3 separate regions of the Homo sapiens genome follow, and regions 2 and 3 are each linked to region 1. The links are contacts of gene promoters, found by promoter capture Hi-C in blood cells and fetal thymus (Javierre and others, 2016). All regions are on one chromosome and are shown on one strand. Each heading gives the region's core, a stretch centred on a gene start or on the middle of the fragment in contact. The rest is flanking DNA. Distances are from core to core; before and after follow the strand shown.

Region 1 (3,701 bases), core at 885-3,384:
GTGCTCAATAAATATTTACCAAATGAATGATTCACTAGAAAATTAATGCTTAAGTGGAGAAAATGATTGAAGGAAAACCTAAAATGAAAGCTTTGGATTGCCAGTTAACACTTTGCTCTCTCTTTTCCCTATTATTAATATTTTCACAAATAGTTGTTATTTGGTCTTAAAATCTATGTTTGTATACATGTATGCATGCATGTGTGTGCATAATACATACACATACTCGCGCTCATACTGGACGTCTTAGATCCGGCTTAGGTTCTTTAAGGTAATGCTTATGGCCAAAATCACAAATATCCAAAATTACAAATTGGAAACTCATTAAATCACCTGGAAAGTACAGTAAGCACAGCACAGGTATATCACGTTCTGCACCGTGCCAACCATGAGAGAACAATACATTTCGCTTTCCCATCCCCCACTATGTAAATCACTACTTTTTGCTCCCTTGTAGTCTTTCTTGTAAATTACATACTTAACTTGGATTGTATTCCATTCTGCAGAGGTTCAGTGCACAGCCCCAAGGCACAGTACCAAACCTCAAAGATACAGTCCCTCTGCTCTAGGGTTCCAAACGTATCAATTCCACTTTTTGCCTTTCACCTTCTAATTAAATTACACATATTGTAAAGCATTCCGTGTTATGGTTAATCATCAAAGGTCTCTATCATTCTTATCACCCTTCCAAGTAAGTCCCCTGCTACCCATTGACTTCTTACCCAAGATAACTCTCATGGCATGGCCACAGCGACTGCTTAAGTAGAGACCGGGGTTCATTTGGGGAGCTTTGAAAACATTTTCAAGAGTTTGTTCTGTGCAACCTTGCCCATAAACACTTCTTCCTTCTTTCGATTTTCAAAGCATGTATAATGCGCCCTGTATGCTGCTGCGTTTTGTGCAGGACTGCGTTTCTTCTTTGCTTTCCACACAGTAGCACACTACTGCAAAAACTGGTGTAATTGGCTTGAAGGGATCAACTGAAAACACTTTAAAAGCAAACACCGGTGGAGCGAGAGGTTAAGTCCTCAATATTCATTCCAGCGGTGTGAGGGCGCTCGTGGACCACGGACCCAGCCCTCCGCAGTAGCAGGGAGCCAAATGCACTCGTGTCATCTCTTAAGAGATGTCCCATCATTCCTAACTTTTCTTGTCTCAAAAGTTAAGGAACTCCGCTTTCCAGACCTTTCCCCAGGACCCGCCTCGGTCCTCTACGCCCCTTTGCTAGCTAGGCATCCTCCGTCGGTCGCCAGCCCCTGCGGACCCAGCTGCCTCAGGGCCCGAGGTTTTTATGCATCTCCTTTTGATTACTAACTAAGCTATCCTAAAGTGCCCGAACGTCACGAGCGCGAGAGAAAAACCACACTGGTGTCTTTAACGCTTCAGACACACCTCGTTTCCTCCGTTTTATGAGCGGAACCTAGTTCCTGGCGAGAGAGCCATCCCCCTCCTCCGCCTGCGGAGCCGGGGCCGGTTCCGAGGCCCCCACCCCAGCCCCGGCCCGCCCCGCGCGGCTCTGCGCATTCCTCTCGCGTCCGCGGCACCACGCTGGCACCACTGCCTCGGGCGAACACGGCCGGGCCCGCCCTCGCCACTCACCTAGCAGCTCCGCGATGGCACTGAAGGGTCGCGTGTGGCTGCTGGAGTTGCTCTGGAGGTAGCGGGGGCTCATCTGGGGGCGAGAGAAGGTCCCGACCCGCGTGAGGCCTCGGCCCGCCGGGCCCTCCCCGCGCGCCCCCCGCAGCCCAGGGGCCCGCGCGCGCGTCCGCCCCCTCGGGCCCCGGACCTACCGTGCTCAGGCGGATCCCGAAGGCCTGCGGGCCGCCGCCGGGCCGGGCCAGCCCGCAGCCCGGCGCGCCAGGGCCGGCGGGGGCCCCTCGGTACAGGAGCATTTTTTTGGCCGCCACGGTACCCGTCTGCTGCCGCCGGACCCCTGGCCCGGCGGTCCGGGACTAGCCCTCGCTCACTTCCACTCGCAGCTGGCGGCGACCGTCCGGGACCGGCCCTCCCTCGCTCCCACTCGCAGCTGGCGGAGGCGGAGCGCGCTCCAGCCACCTGTCCCGGGCGGGAGGGGTGAGGCCGGCTGAGGCAAGCGGCGGCTCCGCCCTGTCAGCACCTCTACCGACCCGGCGACTGCCCGGGCTGCCTCTGGGCCGTACAGAAATATGGCGACCTCCTGACAGCCGCTCCTTGATCCCCGCCCCTAATTAATTATTGGCGTATGCCATAGGCCAGGCCGCCGAGCGGGAAAGCGCGGGGGGCGGGGGTGGCGCGTGGGGAGGGGCGTGAATGAAGCAAGAGGAGGGAGAGCATGTATGGGATTTCTGGAACCTAGTCCCGCTTAGGCTGCATGACTAACAGGCAAGATAAGACAAGTCTTTCAAGTTCTAAAGACTACAGTGTTGCTATCTGGGAAGATAGCAAGCTCGCCTGATGGGAAAACATTCTACCTACTCTGCCTCAAATGCCTCCAGAAGCACCCAGAACTTTCTGGAAGGCAATTAGCAAACTATCTCCAAAGTCTTGCTAGCATGCAGGGACGGTGTTTCTAAAAGGAGAAATTGGATTCACTTAAATACCGCCAAGTAGGGGATTGGTCGAGTTATGAAGTATGCATAAAATGAAATACCATCCAGTTCTTGAAGGCCATGTTTGTAGATAAGTATGTGTTGATGTAGAAAAATATTCATGAAGGAATGAAGAAAACAAGGAGTTACAACATATTGTGGAACGCATGATGCCTTTTCTATTGGAAAAACAAATATATATGTATACATATATACATATATATATATGCATGCATACACACATATACACATACATACATACATATATATATACACACACACACACACAACGAAAACCACTTGATATACACCAAGATGATATCTCTGGGTCTGGAACTAGACACTTTTTCCTTTTTTCTTACCTGTGTTTTCTAATATACTATAAATATACACTGATAATAGAAAAACAGATTCATTAAAAACATATGTAATGTTCTATGGCATGAATGAACTATAATTTATTTGACCATTCCTTTATGGTAATTTAGGTTGTCCTCTTTTTTTAATTTTGACAATACAAAAAATGCTCCTTCACACACTCGTGTACAGGTCATTAATTTCTGATACTGTTATCTCCACAGAATGAATTCCAAAAGATGAGACTGCTGCATCTAATAGCATGTGCATGGTTTAATCTTAATAAATACTGTAAGATAGGCAATTTGCCCTCCCAGCAACAATCAGTGCTCTTTTGTCATGTTCATAGCACTAGATGGTCCCAATCTTTTAACTTTTTGATAGTCTTTTCAATAAAAAATAGTATCTCCTTATTGTTTTAATTTGCATTTTCCTGACTACCAGTAAGGCTGAATATCTTTTCAAATGTTTAGTATACATTTGCATCTCCTCTTCTACAAATGCCTGTTTATGTCCTTTGAGCATCATTTTTTACCCCCATTGGGTGCTTTACATTTGTCTGTTTTTTAGTTATCTTTTCTTCAATTTTTTAAAATACACAAAAGTACAGAAAACAATATAATGAATCCCATGTACTTATTACTCAGATGCAGTAATTATCAAGACTGCCACACCTGCTGCAATGGACTGAACATTTGTGCCCCGCCAAAATTTGTATGTTGAAATCCTAACTCCCAATATGATGGTATTAGGTATTGGGATTAGGAGTTGGGGCCT
Region 2 (3,701 bases), core at 536-3,035, 550 kb after region 1:
TCAGTCTTTAAGAAGAAGTAAATCCTGTCATTTGCTACAACATGGATGAACTTGGAAGACATTATCCTAAGTGAAATAATAATAATAATTATTATAAGCCAGACACAGAAAGACAAATACCACATGATCTCACTTACATGCGGAATCTAAAAAAGTCAAAATCATAGAAGTGGAGCATAGAATGGTGATCACTAGAGGCTAAGGTTGGGAGGGAGTGGGGAGATGCTGTTCAAAGGATACAAAGGCTCAGTTAGACAGGAGGAATAAGTTTTTGAGATCTATTGCACAGCATGATGACTATAGTTAATAATAATGTATTATGTATTTCAAAATTGCTAAAATAATACCCTCACTACTCCCACTCTAACTCACTCATTCTCTTGTGTAGTCCTTTACCCTGCCTTATTTTTCCTCAAAGTCCTTCTTTGCTACCTAAAAGATATTTATCGTCTGTCTATTCCTGCTGGAATGGATGCTCCATGAGGCCAGGGAGTTTTGTCTGTCTTATTCACTGCTCTATCCCTCATCACCTAGAACAGTGTGTGGCATGTAGTAGGCCCTTGCTAAATTTGTCAAAAGAATGAATAAACGCCCCCCCAAAGACAATGAGGATGCCCCTCAGCACGACTCCTGTATTCCTAATTGCTGGGCCTTACAGAGCTCAGCAGGGAGCTAGAATCCAAGGGGCACCCAGGAAAGGCTTAGTTTCCAGTGTTTGCTAATCATGCTTCTGATAAAATTGTGGGAGAGTTTTCAAGAACTAAAAAGCCAGCCAGGCATGGTGGCCTGTAAGCCCAGTACTTTGGGAGGCTGAGGCAGGTGGATCACCTAAGGTCAGGAGTTCAAGACCAGCCTGGCCAACATGGTGAGACCCCATCTCTACTAAAAATACAAAATTAGCTGGGTGTGGTGGCACATGACTGTAATCCCAGCTACTCAGGAGGCAAGGCTGGAGAATCGCTTGAACCCAGGGAGCGGAGGTTGCAGTGAGCCGAGATTGCACCATTGCACTCCAGCCTAGGCGACAAGAGTGAAACTCCGTCTAAAAATAAATAAATAAATACAAGCCTGGCTGATTTTTTGGGCATTTCTTACAGAATTGGATAAACAAAGTGGTGCAGAGCCCAAAACTAGAAAGCCAGAAGACTTGGGTTAAATCTCTCACATCTCTATTCCCCAATAGTGTAGTAACTGTGGATAAATCCTTTTGGAGTGCTAGGTCTCCTTTCTCCCACATCTAAAATAGTATTTATTATGCAACTCCTTCCTAGGGGCAGGACATGTCTGTGAGGTGAACAAGATCATTTCTGTAAATTATTTGGGATGCTTATATTCAGATATAATAATAATAATAAAAAGACACCCTTTAGGTCTATCTCACTGTAAGAAAACCAAATATATAAAAACTCAATGTATGTTATTACTAAAGAACTTTTGCAAACTCCCCTAGGCCTAGAGTATTAATAATGGGGTTCAATCTACCCAAATTCAATTCATGCCCAGCTGTTTCAGAACACACCAATTACATAGGGAAGCATTTAGCACATTGCCTTGCAACTAATAGGTAATTAATATTTGTTTATTGACTCCTTGATCAGTAATGCAAAGTGTACCTGTACTGGGACATCTTAACTCTGACGTGACAAAGGTTAGGCTTTCCCTAGATATGGAGAACTCACCATCTCTCTGTTCTTTTTCCAGTCCCCCAAATCTGCTTTCATCAGTGCTGCGAAGAAGGCCAAGTTGAGGTCCAATCCTGTGAAGGTTCGATTTTCTGAGCAGGTGGCAGTTGGAGAAACAGATGCAGTAAGTGTAGCTTTGGCTCCCTCTCCTCAGCCCCTGGCCATAATCTGCCTGGCTGTCAAGCTCTCGCTCTGGGGCTTCTTATAGTGGACAGCTTTCCGAATGGGTTAGAGTGGGAGCGTCCAGGTGCTGGAGGGGGAAAAGTAGTGAGTGAAGAGGGATACGTGACATCCAGAGAGGCCCCAGGCATTGTGGGGAGAAGGAATATATATTGATTCACTCAAGATCCTTCTGATGCTTAGAGAAATTTCCATCCCTAACACAGTAGCTTACACTCAAAGCAAGTGCTCCATAAACATCTTTTGCTACTTGATAGAAACAGGAAGGAAATAATGGCTTCCTGAAGACTCAGGGAATGAGTGGCTGGTGAAATTGAGCTCTCTTCACATTTAAGTGATCTTGCAACTCCACATCTTGACCAGAAAAGGCCATGCAGTGGTGAGTAAAGTTGCCTAAAGGAAATGATACAGACTCTCATTAAGTCACCAAGTTTTTATTAGGCACCTGCTATGTTCTTAGCACCAGAGGGGAGGCAAAATAAATACCTGTTCCCTGCTACCAGATACCTCTCAGCAATGTTGAGGGGGACAAGAGGTTCAGATTGAGACAATACAAAATCTACTACGGGGTGGTATTGTTTCGAAAGACAGGTAATATTTGACAGCCCATGCCATGCAGCTGCCAATTTGGGGAGTCTTGGCCAGCCACAGTGTTTCTCACTGCTTTGGGAGGTTTACATGCAGTGAACTGTCGGCTCCAGATGTGCAAATGAGAAGAGGCAGGTGAAGAGCAGAAAAGAAGTGTGTTAAGCAGTCATGCATTCTGGCCGAGTCCTTCAGGAATCTGCAGAAGTTAGTGATAACCTGGTGGGGACAGAGGGGATAGCTAGAGCTAACAGGCACTTGTGTGCTTTTGATAGCTGTGATGGGCAGAGCTGTCTGGAGGCCCTTGGCATTTACGTACTGAGGAACAGCCACAGTTGTTGGGAGAAGATAGCAGGCCCAGAGCAGGGAAATCAGCAGGGTGCCAGGCGCTTCTATATTATTTAAGGCAGAATTAGTGAGAAGAAGGTATAGAGGACACAGGTGTCTTCCATCTCCATTTCCCTGACTCTCATTCCCAAACTCAGTCTATGCCCTCCTCCATCTCTGCATGAGGAAGGCTGGCAAACCCAGGGGACTACAGGACCCCACTGGGCAAGCTGTCTGAATAATTGATGGTTGGGATCTGTGTCAATCCTAGAAGAAAAGTTTTAAGAGAAGTGATCATTGATGAGCAGAGGGGAAAAGGAGTAATATGGAGTCCCTGCAAATCAGGGTGAAACAGACCCCGAGGTCCAAGTCACCAGGAGGATATGTGTGTCCTGAATGCTTGAAAACCCAGAGGACGTATGACTTGGATTTGGTAAGTATGAACAGGCTTATCCTATGCCATCTCAACATTGCAGAGTAATCAGTCAAGGGCAGGCCACCCAGTGAAGAACTCCTTCCCTTCCTCCCCACTCCCCTCCCCTCTCTTCTCTTCCTCTCCCTTCTACTTCCCCTTCTCCACTTTCTCCTTCTTCCACCATGATTCCCCTCTCCATACGTCACAGCTAGGTTACAGGCACAGCTAGTCTACAGGCGTAACGATGCCCCCCACTCCAGTCTATTCTGAATGCAAATGCCACAGAGTAGCTAGGACCCACCTAGAGTGACCTCATTCTCTCGGACAGGCCACCAGGCATAGTGTGAGGCTCTTGTCTGGGTGAGAGACAGACATCAATCTTCCAACTCTCACTGCACTCGTGAAATTACCTGGTGTTACAACATCACCCTCCTCCATGCTGCCGCCAGTATGGACCATAGCAGCCTCATCACAGGTCGGGAGCCGGGGGAGTCCAGGCCCAAGTGACTCCA
Region 3 (3,701 bases), core at 516-3,015, 530 kb after region 1:
TGTGAGGTGTAGCCAGAGAGATCTCATATGATAGAGACAACTTCAGAGTTCTTTGCTGGACTATGAATTTCTCTTTTATACAATTATTCTAAATCTTTTCCCCTTCCCCTATAAATAGTCCTAAAGCTTCTCTCTATTACTGAAACTGTGTCCTGATAAATAACCTAAATGGTTTGAAGCATTTGCTACTGATGAATTTGATATTCTTAGCTAATAAAGAATTGCATTGCTCTCGGCTAGGCGCGGTGGCTCACGCCTGTAATCCCAGCACTTTGGGAGGCCGAGGCGGGTGGATCGCCTGAGGTCGGGAGTTCAAGACCAGCCTGGCCAACACGGTGAAACCATGTCACTACTAAAAATATAAAAATTAGCCAGGCAGGGCAGCACACGCCTGTAATCCCAGCTACTCTCCTGGAGCCTGAGGCAGGAGAATCGCTTGAACCTGGGAGGTGGAGGTTGCAGTGAGCCGAGATCGTGCCACTGCACTCCAGCTGGCGTAACAGAGGGAGACTCCATCTCAAAAAAAAAAAAAAAAAAAAAAAAAAGAATTGCATTGCTCTCAGAATGTCAAAACCTCCTACTTCTTTTACAAACCTTATACTAGTTTCATTAATTAGCTACTGGCCCTCTGTATCTTGTTCCAAAGGGCTCTGCCTGGAACCATAATTTTAGCAAATACACATACTGAGGCTAGAAAACTTAAACCCGTCTATCTAGAAGGCCTAAAATTCTGGGGCTGTAGTGGTGCCAGATGAGTGAGCTAAGGCTCTGGGCCACTTGGCCCTGGCCCTCTCTCCTCCATCTCCACCTGCCCTGCCCTTCTCCTTGACCATCCATTCCTCCTTTTACCTTCTTCCCTGGCCTTGGCACCAGTGCTATCACAGGCCTCAGTGTCTCTACACCCTTATCCTTCAGTGCTCTTTGTTTGAATACTACACTCAGACCCCTTCTTGCCTGCAGTATGCCTCCCCTGGCCCTTGATGGAGAACATTTATGAAGCTTTTGTGGAATTCCTAAGCTTTAGTTACTTAAGTTGTGGAAATCGGGAGAACAATGTGTAATCTCTCCCTGGAGTTAGGGCAGTAATTTCTCTTCTCCCAGTTCCTCTGGGCTTTCAGGCCTGCTGGCAGCCCCAGGATGCAGCTCCCCTTCTGGCCAACAGGAACTCTTTTCCAGGTGTCTCATTAACTGAAAGAAGTTGGCATTATGGACAATTTTGGTCCCAGACATTAGCACATTTATTTATATATGCTACTTAAATCATTTATTTTTGTATACAACTTAAGATGTATTCAAGTTTAAAATTGCATCAAGATGAGCCAGGCATGGTGGCTCACGCCTGTAATCCCAGCACTTTGGGAGGCTGAGGTGAGAGGATCACTTGAGGCCAGGAGTTCGAGACCAGCCTGGCCAACATGGCGAAACCCCACCTCTACTAAAAATACAAAAATTAGCCAGGCGTGGTGGCACATGCCTGTAGTCCCAGCTACTCGGGAGGCTGAGGCAGGAGAATCGCTTGACCCCGGGAGGTGGAGGTTGCAGTGAGCCAAGATCGTGTCACTGCACTCCAGCCTGGGTGACAGAGTGAGACTCTGTCTCAAAAAAAATAAAAATTAAAAAAAAAATTTAAAATATTGCATCAGGGCTTCATGAAGATGCTCCATCTTCTGGAACAACTTTACATTTCTTCCGCCACTTACTTGCCTGTCTTGTGGTCTCTTCCTGCAAGGCTTTGGTTTCCTTTACGGAGTTAATAGCTAAGTCAGTGGAGGATGACAGTTAACTTCTGCAGAATATTTGCATTGGGTTCCTTCTGGAGTTCCAATATCTGAGAGGAAGGGTCTGACTCTAATTTCAGGCTCATGACGTCAGTTTCTTCTATTGGCTGTAGCCCTGAAGACAGTAGCTTCTACTTTCTAGATTTCTCTTTCTCCAATCTGAAATATGAGGCAGTCATCATCTCTGTTGGCTCCAGAGGATGTAGGAAGCTAAGCTGTAAACTCCTGGGTGCCAGGGCCAGAACCCTAACTGGCATCTCTCCCTGCTGGTTCTGAGGCTTAGTTCCCTGTGCATCTTGTTTTGCTCCCACCTTCCCTTTTCCCCAGTCATGTGATGCAGGAAGAGAGCGCAAATGATATGGAATGTGAGCAGCTGCCAGCAGAGATACTGCGACAAGTGACCGTTCACCGAGACCCTATATATGGCTTTGGCTTCGTGGCTGGCAGTGAGAGGCCTGTGGTGGTTCGATCTGTGAGGCCAGGTAGGTGTCCCTCAGAGTGTTCCCCTAGCCCTGACTCCTGTCTCCCAACACCCACATATCTTCCCAAAAAGCAGAGCTTCCAAGCATTCTAACTGTCTTGCTGAAGAATTCATGAAGACTGGTTGAAGACTTGCCAACCAATAACTGTGTGAGGGAGCTGGCCTTTTAAGACTGATAGACACAACAATTGAGGCTGTTTGGGGCCCTAGAAAAAGGCTGCAGTTGATTGTTTAACAGTGTCTGGGTCTTAATAAAGCTTCCCTTTGCATAGAACATTCATAAAAGAACCATAATGTCTTGCAAAAAAAAAATGTACCTATTCTATTTAATTCAACAAGTATCTATAGATTGCCTACTCTAAGCCCAGCAATGTTGTCGGGAAGTACAAGACACAGTTCCTGTTCTCAAGAACCTAACCATCAGGCTGTGGAGACATGTATATACTCATGAAACAGGTCAGCCATTGAAGACCAGAATCAAGATACAGACCACAGGTGGGATAGGAGAGGAGAGGATAATGGAATCTCTGAATGCTTGAGTGGCAGTAACAAACATCTACCATTGATTAAGCATCTACAATGTGCTTTACATCATATTGTTTAATTCTCACAGCCACCCCTGCAAAGTAAATAAGTAATATCATTCCCATTTTGCAAACGAGGAAACTGAGGCATAATGAAAGAGAAGTGGCTTGTCCAGTGTCACTCAGCTATAAAGCAACAGAGCCAGGGTTTGCACCTGGGCCTGTTTGATGCCATGCAGGGGAAGTAGGGCCTGAAAGGGACCATGTGGGATGGAACAAGCAAAGCCCCACCTAAGCTATGAAGCCCTGCTATCATGAATGAAATGGAAAAAGACTGAAGTACTGTTTTGTTTCGAATCTGCTAGGCATTGACAAAAAAGACAGACGGAATGGAGCTTTATTCCTGACTTGCTGGGCCTGAGGCTTTAGATGTTTACAACAGTTTCTCGCTCAGTCAAGAGGAGCAGCCAGAGTACAAACTGGTCTTGCAGAAATTTGATGAATTTTGCAATCCTCCAAGGGAAAGAAAAAGATTTTTGTAAGCTCTCTCTTCAACTAGAGGGCACAGAGGAAAAAAAACACACACACACACAACAACAACAATTTAGTACAGGAGTCCGTGGCTGACCTAAGGCTCTGGAGTCAGCCATGCAGTTTGGCAAAAAGGTTTTGAATCTCTGATCAGAAATCAGAGGAAAGGGGGACCAGCTAACATTCAGTAATAGACCACCAGGAGCCCCTACTTTAACTTCAAATGAGACAGAATCTGCACAGCTGAAGGAAGCCCCCAGGCCTAGAGGGGTTCAGCTGCCAAAGGTATAACAATGAAGAAGGAGTTGGAGGGGTCAAGAGAAGAAAATCCCCAGGCACGAACCACAAAAAGCCATGGGGCTGGCATGCATAGCCCTATAAAAGCCC

Evidence for each region. The method cuts DNA at HindIII sites, captures the fragments that hold promoters and counts their contacts. A CHiCAGO score of 5 or more calls a contact.
Region 2: a contact is called between the fragment with the promoter of FRMPD3-AS1 here and the fragment with the promoter of MORC4 in region 1, in 2 of 17 cell types (total CD8 T cells and naive CD8 T cells). The highest score is 6.0, in total CD8 T cells.
Region 3: a contact is called between a fragment that was not itself captured here and the fragment with the promoter of MORC4 in region 1, in 2 of 17 cell types (M2 macrophages and M0 macrophages). The highest score is 5.5, in M2 macrophages.

The regions. Positions count from the first base shown.
Region 1 is chrX:106,998,078-107,001,778 of GRCh38, forward strand. MORC4 (MORC family CW-type zinc finger 4) reads right to left here and starts at 2,135. Exons shown (of 17, transcript NM_024657.5): 1 at 1,791-2,135; 2 at 1,600-1,672. The coding sequence starts at 1,892. RefSeq lists silencers at 1,900-2,109, 2,120-2,199. The HindIII fragment of the contact is 4,977 bases long and covers 89-3,701 here.
Region 2 is chrX:107,544,036-107,547,736 of GRCh38, forward strand. FRMPD3-AS1 (FRMPD3 antisense RNA 1) reads right to left here and starts at 1,786. Exons shown (of 2, transcript NR_046750.1): 1 at 1,680-1,786. It overlaps FRMPD3 (FERM and PDZ domain containing 3), which reads left to right. Exons shown (of 15, transcript NM_001388459.1): 5 at 1,702-1,806. The HindIII fragment of the contact is 5,600 bases long and covers 1-3,701 here.
Region 3 is chrX:107,524,477-107,528,177 of GRCh38, forward strand. It overlaps FRMPD3 (FERM and PDZ domain containing 3), which reads left to right. Exons shown (of 15, transcript NM_001388459.1): 2 at 2,106-2,260. The coding sequence starts at 2,113. The region is part of intron 1 of FRMPD3-AS1 (FRMPD3 antisense RNA 1); the gene reads right to left. Among named protein-coding and RNA genes, the nearest start is that of FRMPD3-AS1, 19 kb to the right of the region's middle. The HindIII fragment of the contact is 1,498 bases long and covers 1,017-2,514 here.